Linked DNA regions of Homo sapiens: regions 1, 2 and 4 are each linked to region 3. The links are contacts of gene promoters, found by promoter capture Hi-C in blood cells and fetal thymus (Javierre and others, 2016). All regions are on one chromosome and are shown on one strand. Each heading gives the region's core, a stretch centred on a gene start or on the middle of the fragment in contact. The rest is flanking DNA. Distances are from core to core; before and after follow the strand shown. Region 1 has its middle 12 kb from the start of UBR2. Region 2 overlaps UBR2 (ubiquitin protein ligase E3 component n-recognin 2). Region 3 holds the start of FRS3 (fibroblast growth factor receptor substrate 3). Region 4 holds the start of TBCC (tubulin folding cofactor C).

Evidence for each region. Contacts are between HindIII fragments. The CHiCAGO score rates a contact against its expected background, and 5 or more counts as called.
Region 1: a fragment that was not itself captured here is called in contact with the fragment with the promoter of FRS3 in region 3 in 5 of 17 cell types (total CD8 T cells, naive CD8 T cells, neutrophils and 2 more); the score reaches 10.3 in total CD8 T cells.
Region 2: a contact is called between a fragment that was not itself captured here and the fragment with the promoter of FRS3 in region 3, in 2 of 17 cell types (total CD8 T cells and naive CD4 T cells). The highest score is 5.3, in total CD8 T cells.
Region 4: the fragment with the promoter of TBCC here is called in contact with the fragment with the promoter of FRS3 in region 3 in 1 of 17 cell types (fetal thymus); the score reaches 5.7 in fetal thymus.

Annotation. Positions count from the first base shown.
Region 1 is chr6:42,550,909-42,553,608 of GRCh38, forward strand. No RefSeq gene overlaps it. Among named protein-coding and RNA genes, the nearest start is that of UBR2, 12 kb to the right of the region's middle. The HindIII fragment of the contact is 1,400 bases long and covers 700-2,099 here.
Region 2 is chr6:42,571,325-42,574,024 of GRCh38, forward strand. UBR2 (ubiquitin protein ligase E3 component n-recognin 2) reads left to right here. Exons shown (of 47, transcript NM_001363705.2): 2 at 2,410-2,669. Among named protein-coding and RNA genes, the nearest start is that of UBR2, 8.6 kb to the left of the region's middle. RefSeq lists enhancers at 1,436-1,495, 1,586-1,635. The HindIII fragment of the contact is 744 bases long and covers 909-1,652 here.
Region 3 is chr6:41,778,547-41,781,246 of GRCh38, forward strand. FRS3 (fibroblast growth factor receptor substrate 3) reads right to left here and starts at 1,354. Exons shown (of 7, transcript NM_006653.5): 1 at 1,270-1,354. PRICKLE4 (prickle planar cell polarity protein 4) reads left to right here and starts at 2,236. Exons shown (of 8, transcript NM_013397.6): 1 at 2,236-2,280. RefSeq lists silencers at 1,080-1,229, 1,260-1,669, 1,950-2,019. The HindIII fragment of the contact is 6,259 bases long and covers 242-2,700 here.
Region 4 is chr6:42,744,739-42,747,438 of GRCh38, forward strand. TBCC (tubulin folding cofactor C) reads right to left here and starts at 1,365. Exons shown (of 1, transcript NM_003192.3): 1 at 1-1,365. The coding sequence starts at 1,335. The coding sequence ends at 295. It also overlaps a transcript of BICRAL not described here. RefSeq lists enhancers at 854-1,013, 1,074-1,153, 1,184-1,393, 1,458-2,421 and a silencer at 2,364-2,423. The HindIII fragment of the contact is 2,174 bases long and covers 1,346-2,700 here.

The DNA of each region.
Region 1 (2,700 bases), core at 150-2,649, 770 kb after region 3:
GACAAAAGATAAGAAAAAGAGAAGACTAGCCTGGGAGTTCCAGGAAGAGAGAAAAGAGAGAAACAGATAACATTATTTTTAAAATTAATTCTCTAAAATTTCCCTAAACTTAGAAACACAGGTTTTCAGATTTAAAGGGCCCACTTAGTACCCATAACCAATAGATGGAAATTAACTCACGTCAAGCCACATTATCATGAAATTTCAGAACTCTATGGATAAAAAGATCCTTTACGTTTCCAGAGATAGAAAAATAGATCAGAAATAAAAGATCAGAAATCAGAACGTCTTTAGATTTCTCAGTAGCAATACTGGAAGCTAGAAGACAATTGGGAAATGCCTTCAAAATTCTGGAGGAAAATTATTTTCAACCTAGAATTCTATACTCAGGCAAACTATCAATCAAGTGGGAGAACAGAATAAAAATCATTGCATGATTACAATAAATTCAAAAATGAATTTCTTATGCAACCTTTCTTGGGAAGCTATTGGAGTATATGACTCATCAAAAGGAGGATGAATTCAAGAATGAAGACACTAAGGAGACATAGGATCCAGTAAATGAAAGCTTCAACACAGGAGGGATGAAAGGAATCTTAAGGATATGGAGACTGGAAATTCCGAAGTCAAAGTGAAAATAGCTTTGAGAATGTCAGCTGTGTACCAGGCAGGAGTGGATCCAGGTCTTGTGGGGCCTGAAGCTTATGCAATTTGAGGGTCCTCTTCTTAAAAGTAAAATACAAAATTGTAAATACAAAATTAGGTATAAAAATGAATATTTATTTACAATGAGAAATCACAACAAAAATTTTAAAAGCTAACAAAAATACCACAGACATCACAAAATCTAGAAAAATAATTTTTTTTTTTTCGAGACAGAGTTTTGCTCTTGTTGCCCAGGCTAGAGTACAATGGCGTGATCTCAGCTCACTGCAACCTCTGCCTCCTGGGTTCAAGCAATTCTCCTAGCTCAGCCTCCCGAGTAGCTGGGATTACACGCCCAGCTAATTTTTTGTATTTTTAGTAGAGACGGGGTTTCTCCATGTTGGCCAGGCTGGTCTTGAACTCCTGACCTCAGGTGATCCGCCCACTTTGGCCTCCCAAAGTGCTGGGATTACAGGCGTGAGCCACCGCGCCTGGCCAAAAGATAGAATTTTTAAATGAATTAACTGCTTGATCCCTGTCTATAATACTTTTTTCCTTTATTTTTCAGCTATATACTTGTCCTCCAACAGTGTTTCATGAAAATGTTCAAACCTATACAAAAGTTAAAAGAACTTTACAGTGAACACCATATACCTGTCATCTAAATTCTACACTTAACATTTTGCTGGCGGGGCATGGTGGCTCACACCTGTAAGGCCGAGGCAGATGGACTGCTCGAGCTCAGGAGTTTGAGACCAGCCTGGGCAGCATGGTGAGACTCCATCTCTACTAAAAATACAAACATTAGCCGGATGTGCTGGCATGCACCAGTAGTCCCAGCTACTTGGGAGGCTGACGTGGGAGGATGGCTTGAGCCCAGGAGGTGGAGGTTGCAGTGAGCCGAGATGGTGCCACTGCACTCCCACCTGGGCAACAGAGCCAGACCCTGTCTCAAAAAAAAAAAAAGTATAGCAAAATGTTTTGTTGTTGTTGTTGTTGAGACAGGGTCTGGCTATACTGCCCAGGCTCAAGTGCAGTGGCACGATCTCAACTGGGCTCAAGCCATCTTCCCACCTTAGCCTCCATAGTAGCTGGGACTACAGGCGCACCTCTGTGGTGCATATTCACCCTTGCACCCAGGGTGAATTACGACAGTAAGAGGTGTGAATATTTCTGGAAGCAATTCCTACTGGAATGGCTGACAATAACCCAACTTTACATAGCTGTGACTGTGAACTACATAAATAATCTAACTAAACCCATGCTAAGATCTCCTATTTATTTCCCATTGGTCTGATCCCGAAACAGCAATGTGAGAGGAAATGCGACTGAGGAAAAGCTAGACAGGAAAGAGACAGCAGTTTAGCCAATCACAGTTAAAATATCTTATTTTGCAAATTTTATGTAACTTATGACCATATGAATTCATTGCTGAAGCCAGTGAGGGCCCCTGAAGCTTAAGCTTTACTAGTTTCATGGGAAATCTACCTCTGGAACTAGGCCAACAGGGTAACCAATCCGTTTTGGAGTAGATAGAAAACTCCAGGAGAGATCTCTACAAGACTGGGGGGAAAAAATGGCCGGGCACGGTGGCTCATGCCTGTAATCCCAGCTACTGGGGAGGCTGAGGCACAAGAACTGCTTGAACTCGGGAGGCGGAGGTTGCAGTGAGTCGAGATGGCACCATTGCACTACAGCCTGGGTGACAGAGCAAGACTGTTTAAAAAAAAGAAAAAACGAAGGAAGGAAGGAAGGAAGGAAGGAAGGAAGGAAGGAAGGAAGGAAGGAAAGAAAAGATTTAAAAAAATTTTTTTTTTGAGACAAGGTCTCGCTCCATCACTCAGACTGGAGTGCAGTGGAGCAATCTCAGCTCTTGCAACCTCTGCCTCCCAGGCTCAAGTGATCCTCCCACCTAAGTCTCCCGAGTAGCTGGGACCACAGGTGTACACCACCATGCTCCGCTAATTTTTTAAGGTTTCTGTAGAGACAAGGTGTCACTATATTGCCCAGGCTGGTCTCGAACTCCTGGCCTCAAGAAATCCTCCGGCCTTGGCC
Region 2 (2,700 bases), core at 31-2,530, 790 kb after region 3:
TACAGGAATGGGAACATAAAATATAAGGAAAAAAACTGGTTTTTAAATAAAATCTTTCAATATGTTGTAAAAAAAAGTCCGAAGCACTTAACTTTCTAGGATCATGGAGGTGAATTATTTTGGTCTTATTGCTTAATTTTTCTTTCATAAAGAGTAAATTGAATCCTAGCACCTTTGGGAGGCCGAGGTGGGCAGATCACCTGATGTCAGGAGTTTGAGACAAGCCTGGTCAACATAGTGAAACCTTGTCTCTACTAAAAATACAAAAATTAGCCGCGTGTGGTGGTGCACACCTGTAACCCCAGCTACTCAGGAGGCTGAGGCAGGAGAATCACTTGAACCTGGGAGGCAGAGGTTGCAGTGAGCCGAGATCGTACCACTGCACTCCAGCCTGGGCGACAGCACGAGACTCAAAAAAAAAAAAAAAAAAAAGCGCTTAGGATCATTTGACTACCTTCATTCTTGTTTTGGTTTGCTGACAATGGGTGAAAAATGAGACATTTACCTTTGAATGAGGCCAAAACGAGGTCTTTTAGCTCAAAGAATAAGATTCTAGTATGCTTGTTGAGGACTCTTTTTCTTTTTTTAAAACTTGTCCTCTTTATAATTACTGAGCTTAAAGGATGTGTATGTATATATAAAATTTTGATTGAGTCACTCTGAAGGGAGAGAATACTTAAAGCCTGTAGGATTGTCTCCTAAGAAATGATGCTGCTGCTGCTGTTTTATTTTTATTTTTATTTTTTTTTCCCTAACCACTTGGCCACCAGGGAAGAAATGCTGTTGTTTTGAAAGTAATTTAGTCTCTTTCCTACTTGCATAATGTAAACACAACAATGTTAGTAATATTTGGAAAATAGTTTAGTTTCACTTTAAGCATGAAAACTCTTTCACCGTTTTTGGTTATAAGCTTCTATCCAGTCCCTTAACTTATGAACAAAATTTTTACATTTTTAGTAAAAGTTCTCTGAAAACAGAAATTGACTAGAAAGTTAATATACATCACCTCATGCATATTTAAAATCTCTCTGTATGTTGTTTTTAGAAGGAGTGGTCTGAAGAATATACAAGTAATAGCTAAAATGAAGACCTTATGTTGACTTCTTATGATGTTACATATCACTTGAACATACTTTTTTTTTTTTTTTAAATAAAAATGTAACTGGAATTAGGTAGTAATCCATAGGTAAACATTGGAGGTTTTTTTTAATTTCAGCTTTTACTTTAGATTTAAGGAATACATGTGCAGGTTTGTTACATGAGTATATTGCACCTGGGTAGTGAGCATAGTACCCAATAGGTAGTTTTTCAACTCACTTCCCCTTCCTCTTTCCCTCCATCTGTGGGTTTTGTTCACGGTTCAGTTAACTGCATTCTAGCAGAAGTGAGTCTTTTTTTTTTTTTGTCCTTTGAGACAGACTCTTGCTCTGTCGCCCAGGCTGGATCTTGGCTCACTACAACCTCTGCCTCCTGGGTTTAAGCGATTTCTCCTGCCTCAGCCTCTTGAGTAACTGTGATTACAGGCATGCGCCACCACATCCAGCTAATTTTTATATTTTTAGTAGAGAAGAGACTTCACCATGTTGGCCAGGCTGGTCTTGAACTCCTGACCTCAGGTGATCTGCTTGGCCTGGCCTCCCAAAGTGCTGGGAAGCTTTTCAGATTTTTCGGTGTGGATACCCAGGTTGAGCTGGAAATGGAGAAAATAACAGATTTTGGTGGAGCATGGAGGGGAGATCATGCATTCAGTTATTGAGTTGGTACCTATGAGATCTAAGTAGAATCATGCTTTAAAATTTGTTTTTAGTGGGGAGAGCAAACGGAAAAGGCCTTATAGAGAGAGAGAAGTTGATCAGAGAAAGAAGGCATAATTGGTACAACAGTCTCTTGTGGACTGACTTATTCAATAAGAGACTGGTATATAAACTTGCTTATCAATCATTAAGAAATGTGTATTGGCTGTTCATGTTCACCGTACATATTGGCTGTTCATATTCACCGTACACTCTTCCTATGGACAAACTGACGTGAGAATTGATATCACAATGAGAATAACATTTGAGCAAAGCATTAGGAAGGACATTAGGTGAGCTCAATGGTTCATATCTTATATAATGATTTCTTGTAATTATTTTCTGGTACTGCCTAGAGAAGATTGCTTCAAGAGTCATTTTGCAGGGAAGGAGGGAGGCTTGTTTCATTTTAATTTTACTTACACTTAAAAGTAGGATTTAAACATACTTGGCATTTTAATAGATTAAATTTCTAACGTACGGTGGTGAGTGTTGTAAACAAAATATTTTAATATGCTTTTGTCATTATTTTTGTACCTAAAAGAAAGTAGGGTGAATTTGTTCAAATTAGTTTGTTGGTGTTTAAAACCATTTCTTCTCTTTTCTTCTTTTAAAGAAATGGCTGCAAGCAACTGACCTCACTAGAGAAGTGTACCAGCATTTAGCCCACTATGTACCCAAAATCTACTGCAGGGGTCCCAACCCTTTTCCACAGAAAGAAGACATGCTGGCACAGCATGTTTTGTTGGGACCAATGGAATGGTACCTTTGTGGTGAAGATCCTGCATTTGGATTTCCAAAACTTGAGCAAGCAAACAAACCTTCTCATCTTTGTGGTCGTGTTTTTAAAGTAGGAGAGCCTACATATTCTTGCAGGTAAAATATTTTAATTTTCTTTCTAGGAGGC
Region 3 (2,700 bases), core at 104-2,603:
AGCACTGGTTTAAGACTCAGGAAACCAATATATCGGTCAGTTTTGTTGCTACTAAGTATCTGGGAGACTTAAGTCAACGCCCCCCCCAACTCCCACCTAAGGCCTTAGTTTTTGGGGGAACCATCTATAAACTGGGGAGCTTCTAGCTTAAATAACTTGCAGAGGTAAAAACGTAAGACAAACTTCACTAAAATTGACATGTTCATCTTCCAAGACAGGCTGCTTCAATTTCGCATTTGGAAGCTTGATAGATTTTCTGCTCCCCAAGCTCTGAAAGGCCTAATTTTAACATAAATGTTAACAGTAAGCCAAAATTTCAGGATATCTGAGCCCAAGGTAGACAAGTCAACAAGCCAGGACTCTGCAGACCCTGGACATCCCACATTCCTGCTCTGGAGAAACACTTCCCAGGGCCCCTTGCACCCTGCATCCTTGGACAACTTCCAGGTAAAAGGACCCCATCCCCTTGGTCTGGCTTATTTTCTGGAAGGAAGAAGCAGGCTCAGGGAGGTGTGCACAGACTAAAGATAGGTTGCTGGGAAAATACTGGGGCTTGAGCCACCGACGGGGGCACGGCGCGGGCACTGAAACGAAGAACTCTAGGGTGCAAGATGGGGGAGGGGCTGAATTTCCCTATCACCATCTCTTCTCCTTAAGATATCAGGATGTATCAGATAGCCCACTGAGGAGGGACTGCATTGAGTGGAAATGGGGAGAGGCCTCTGGTCTGGGATAGGTATGGATCAGGGGCAGGAGTGAGAGGGGGGTGTGGGGGCTGAAAACGTATGAGGACGTTTGGGGAAACATGAGCAAGAATTTTGGATGTGGGCATTTTGGATAGTGCAAGGAGAATGGGGATATGAGGGATCCTAGGAATTTCCGGGCAGTGGAAGCATTTGGGGGCATCCAAGAGAAATGGTGGGTCCGTGGGCATAGCAGGAGATTTGTTGAGTGAATGAGGGGGTTCTGAGGGCTCCAGGAGATGCGATGATGTGTCCAGGGCGGAGAGGGTAGAGGTGGGTTGGGGGAGCCAGAGGCTGCAGGACAGGCTACAGGACTGTCAAGGGGAATTTCTACATGCCCGTAAGGAATGAGGAGGTCTGGGTGCGCGCTGTCCCCGGATCCCCGCCCCCAGCCCCGGTGCTCCGCCGCCTGCCCGCCCGCCCGGGGCTTCCTAGGGAGGGAGTGGAGACTGCGGCGCGGCGCGGCGCGGCGCGGCGCGGCCTCGGTGAAGCCGCCTCGTCCCCGCCCCGCCGCGCCCCGACTCACATCGCCCCGCGGCCCGGGCGGCGCCGGGCCCCGCTCCCGGGTCCCGCTGCAGCAGCCGCCGCCCGCCCGGAGCTAAGGCCTCCCCGCCCCGCCCCGCCCCGCGGCCGCGGGGTCGGAGGTCACCGGCAGCACCAACGAGACGCTGCGGGCTGGCGGACCCGAGCGGGGGCGACCGGCACGCAGCCTAGAAGGTCCCTTTGGAGGACTTTGCAGTCGGGAGCAGTGAGCATGCGCAGACGCCAGAGGGCGCTCCTGGCCAGGGGCTGAGCAAGCCCGGAGGGGACAGGGCGGAGCCTGCGGCGGAGGCGGGGCGCGGAGGCGGGGCTGAGGACACCAAAGTTGGGGGTGGTCCGGGGAGCGGAAAGGGGACGGAGGGTTGGGCGAGAAACGAAGGGAAGGGGAGAGGGTCTGAAGGGACCTGAAAGGAGAAGGGCAAGACGATGGAACCTGGAAGAGGGTTGAGGGGAGGGGAAGGGGCCAGGGGGACCACTGGGGACAAGGGGGAGAGAACTGAAGGGAAACACGCGGAGGAGCGGGGCTGGGAGACCACAGGGAGAGTTTGGGGAGACCTGGGAACTGCGGAGAGACAGGGCTGCGGGCCCGGCGAGGCGTTTCCATTCAGCGAATGGTTGAAAACCCAGCGTAAACGCGGCTCCCGGCGTCTGCTGGATGCCTGCCGGGCGCAGTCCGAGCCAGAGAGCCCTTGCACCTGCATGGCAGAGGCCATGGAGCCCGCACATTTCCACCCTGAGATCCCATAAATGTGGTTTTGTTTTCCTTTTTTTTTTCCTCCCCCCAATCTGCAGCTCCAGGCCCCTCCCTGAGCCGCCCCTCTCCACCAGCCGGGGAGGGGCGGGCGGGGGCCGCTGGGGCGTGGGAGAGGAAGGGCCGCGCTATTAGGGCGGGCGGGGGCGGACGGGGGCGGGCGCTGAAGCCTTGGGGTGGGGACCGGGTGAGGGGCCTGACGGCAGAGTCGGTCCAGAACTGCCCGGACAGCGACGCACAGCGAGGGTGAGACCCCAGCGGAGTCCTGGTCCCCTCCCCTAAAATCCCAGCAGCCAGACCGGGAACCCCAGCGGACTCGGGAAACACCGCGTCCCAGCCCCGGAGGCGGGCCCGCCAAGTTCCAGAAAAACTCTGGGGATCTATCGAGAGGGCAGTTGGCGGGACTGGGCACTCCCCTTCCTTCTCCCTCCCACTGTCCCCAGAAATCTTCCCATCCCTCCACCTCCCCAAGCCCTAAGTCCTCTCGGGCTCTGCCCTTCAGGGCAGCGGGTGTTGGGGATGTCCAGCTCCTGAGCCCTCTTGCACGGAGGCTCTGCACGGAGGCAAGACAAGGGGTTCAGCTCTGTCCCTTATCTGAGGTGGGAGGGGGAAGGGAATTATGGAAGGAATCCAGCTGGCCTGTTAGTAAGGGTGTTCCAGTGCTAG
Region 4 (2,700 bases), core at 115-2,614, 970 kb after region 3:
CTACTAAAAATACAAGTTCGCGTGGTGGCGCGCGCCTGTAATCCCAGCGCGCCACCACGCTGGGGGACGGAGTAAGACTCAGTCTCAAAGGCATGACGAAAATAGCAAAAATGCTTTAGTGTTATACCTGTTACGAATTTAATGGAAATTACAAGTAGGAGCCCATTACAATCTCTAGCCTTAAAATGCTGAAAACATACACAGTGTGACAATAAGTAAACTTCGAGACCCAATAAGGGGGAAAGTCCAACGTGGAAAGTATTTGGTAGGAGTGAAGAACAGAGTGACAACTGCTTAGTCCCACTGGATATTTCGCTCCTCTTCAGGAAGAATACTCCAGTTTGGGGAGGCCATATCCCGGGCCAGCCAGTTAAAATCGTCAACATCGTTCCAGTTATTTTTGCTCCTATCTAAACCAGAGCTCTCGAAGTCCTTGTCGATCTCCGGGTAGCTCCAGGTGTAAGGGGCGAACTGGATCCCACTGCAGTCCTCCACGATGGCCCTGCTGGTCACCTGCAGGAAGATGCGGGTGTCTTTCGTACTGTGTATGCGGAGCTGTTGGCAGGCCACTGCCAGCACGCAGTCACTGCAGTCCTCCAGGAAAACAGAGGTAGACACCGGACCGCAGAGCAGCTTGCAGCTGTGGGCCTTGGTTAGCCGCAGGGTGTTGGGATTTCCATACAGTCTGACCGTGCAGTTGCTCAGTTCGGTCAAAAGAACGTCGCGCTGGTGCAACTCGCTGGCTCTCTTCTCCAAGACTTGGGACTCCAGGTTGGAGAAACCGCAGACCCAGCTGGGGCCGAGGTCTCCTTCCGCCTTCTTGGGCAGCGGGGAGTCCTGTATGCTTTCAACTGCCGGGGGGATGCCAGGAGCCGCGTCTACTTTGGTAGACGAAGCAGCATCCTTTCCCCGGGTCTTGAAAGCGAAACGCTTCTTGGGCTGCAGCCCCCGGCGCCGCTCGGCCAAGGCCGCCTGCAGCCGCGCCAGCGCCTCTTGTCCCTGCCGCAGGTCGTAAGCGGCTAGGAAAAAAACTGAGTCGTTGATTAGTTTCTGCAGCCCCTGGAGCCGAGAGGCCGCCTCCTCCAGCCGCTCGACCGACTCCGCGCGCTCCAGAAGCTCTTCCACGGCCGCTCGCTCCCGAACAAAGGTGGCGACGAAAAAGTGGCTGTTCTCCTTCTCTACCTCCTGGTTCTGCCGCTTTTGTTTCCGCCTTTCAACTTCCAGCTGCCGTTCTTGTTCGCGTCTCTGAAGCCGCTCAGGCACCAGGCTCAGGTCCCGCTGGGACTCCATGTCTCCGGTCCTGACAGCAGCAGCGGAGCAACTGACGGACTCCATATTGGCTTCAAGCTTCCTCTCTCTTGTCTTCCTTCCTCCGGGCGCGCTGTCCGTGAGGCCTCCCACCAACGCGTCCGGTGATTGGCCTAACATGATGATGTCAGATCCCCGGCCTTATTTTCTTCGCCTATTGGTTCCTCTGCGTCGGAGGGGGCGGGGAGATGGGGCGGGGCCGACTGACTATGGGGGTGGGAAGACAAAGGTTCTTGTGGATGGGTGGGGTGGGAGGCAGGCGGGGGAATCTTTTTTTTCCTCTTAAAGGGGCAGGACTTATATCCGGGATTGTGGGGTGAGTTGCAGCAGCGGCAGCTGCACATGTGGGTTTGTTTATAAGAACAAGGTTAGAAACTCGCAGGCCTCCCCCTCCCCCCAGCTCCTCCCTACTACCCCCTTACAGGCCGGAGATCCGCTACTAGGGGTGTGGGTGGGAGGGATGAGTGCGTGTGGTGGGTTGGGGGGACAGGTAGTGGTGAGAAAGATGGAGCGGGGGGGAATATTGCACCGCCTGGCCCGCGCCGGAGGAAGCAGCAGCTGGAACAGCTGGCTGGGGAGCCGCTTGCATGCCTCCGGTTTTTTCTTTTCCCTTCCACCACCCCTTCCCCCAACCCATTTCTGCCTCCCCGTAGCCCTCATCCTTACCGCCCCCCTCCCCCCTATCCACTGCAGTTCGGCGCGGCCTGGGGGCTCCTGGATCCCCGCAGGCAGTTACTAGGGCAGGAGAAGGCAAGGGGCACTGCGATGGGAGAGACTGGGTTCCTCACTGCAACCTGGTTCGAGGGGCCCTGGGGGAGTCCATAAAAGGATTACTATTTTTTTGGCCAATTGCTGCAGTCGGAGGGGTGGGGGCGGGGGAAGGTGAGATCCACACCCCCTTCCTCTTTCTTCCCTGCCCTCCCCGAGCTCGGTCCCGGCCACTCCCTCCGCAGCTGGGCGTCGCCGGCCGCGCTGGGGTGAGACCCTAGCCCCGGGCTCCGTGGCTCTCTGGGGCGGTCGGTCTTAGGAAAGCGGTGGGAGAAGCGGTACATTATTTCTAGGGGTGGTGGGAGGGATTTGTCACCGGAAGTGAATGGCCTAGCCTAAAGTCGGGACCAACCCGAGGTGTGGGTGGGCAGCCAAGACGGCGCAGTCACTGGCAAAAACCCGAGGCAGCGGGCAGGGCGAGAACCCGAGACGCAGCCGCTGCCCGGGCGCGGCAGCCTCGCATGCTTCGCTCAGATCTGCGGAGCTCCCGAACCTCTTTAACCCTGCCCGCCCTTCCAACCCTAGGTTTCCTCCTTATATCCCCAGTTCCCAGCCTCCATCGTTTAAATTGGGGTATTTAACGACCCAAGAAACTTGAAATTTCACCGATCTACCTGCATTTTG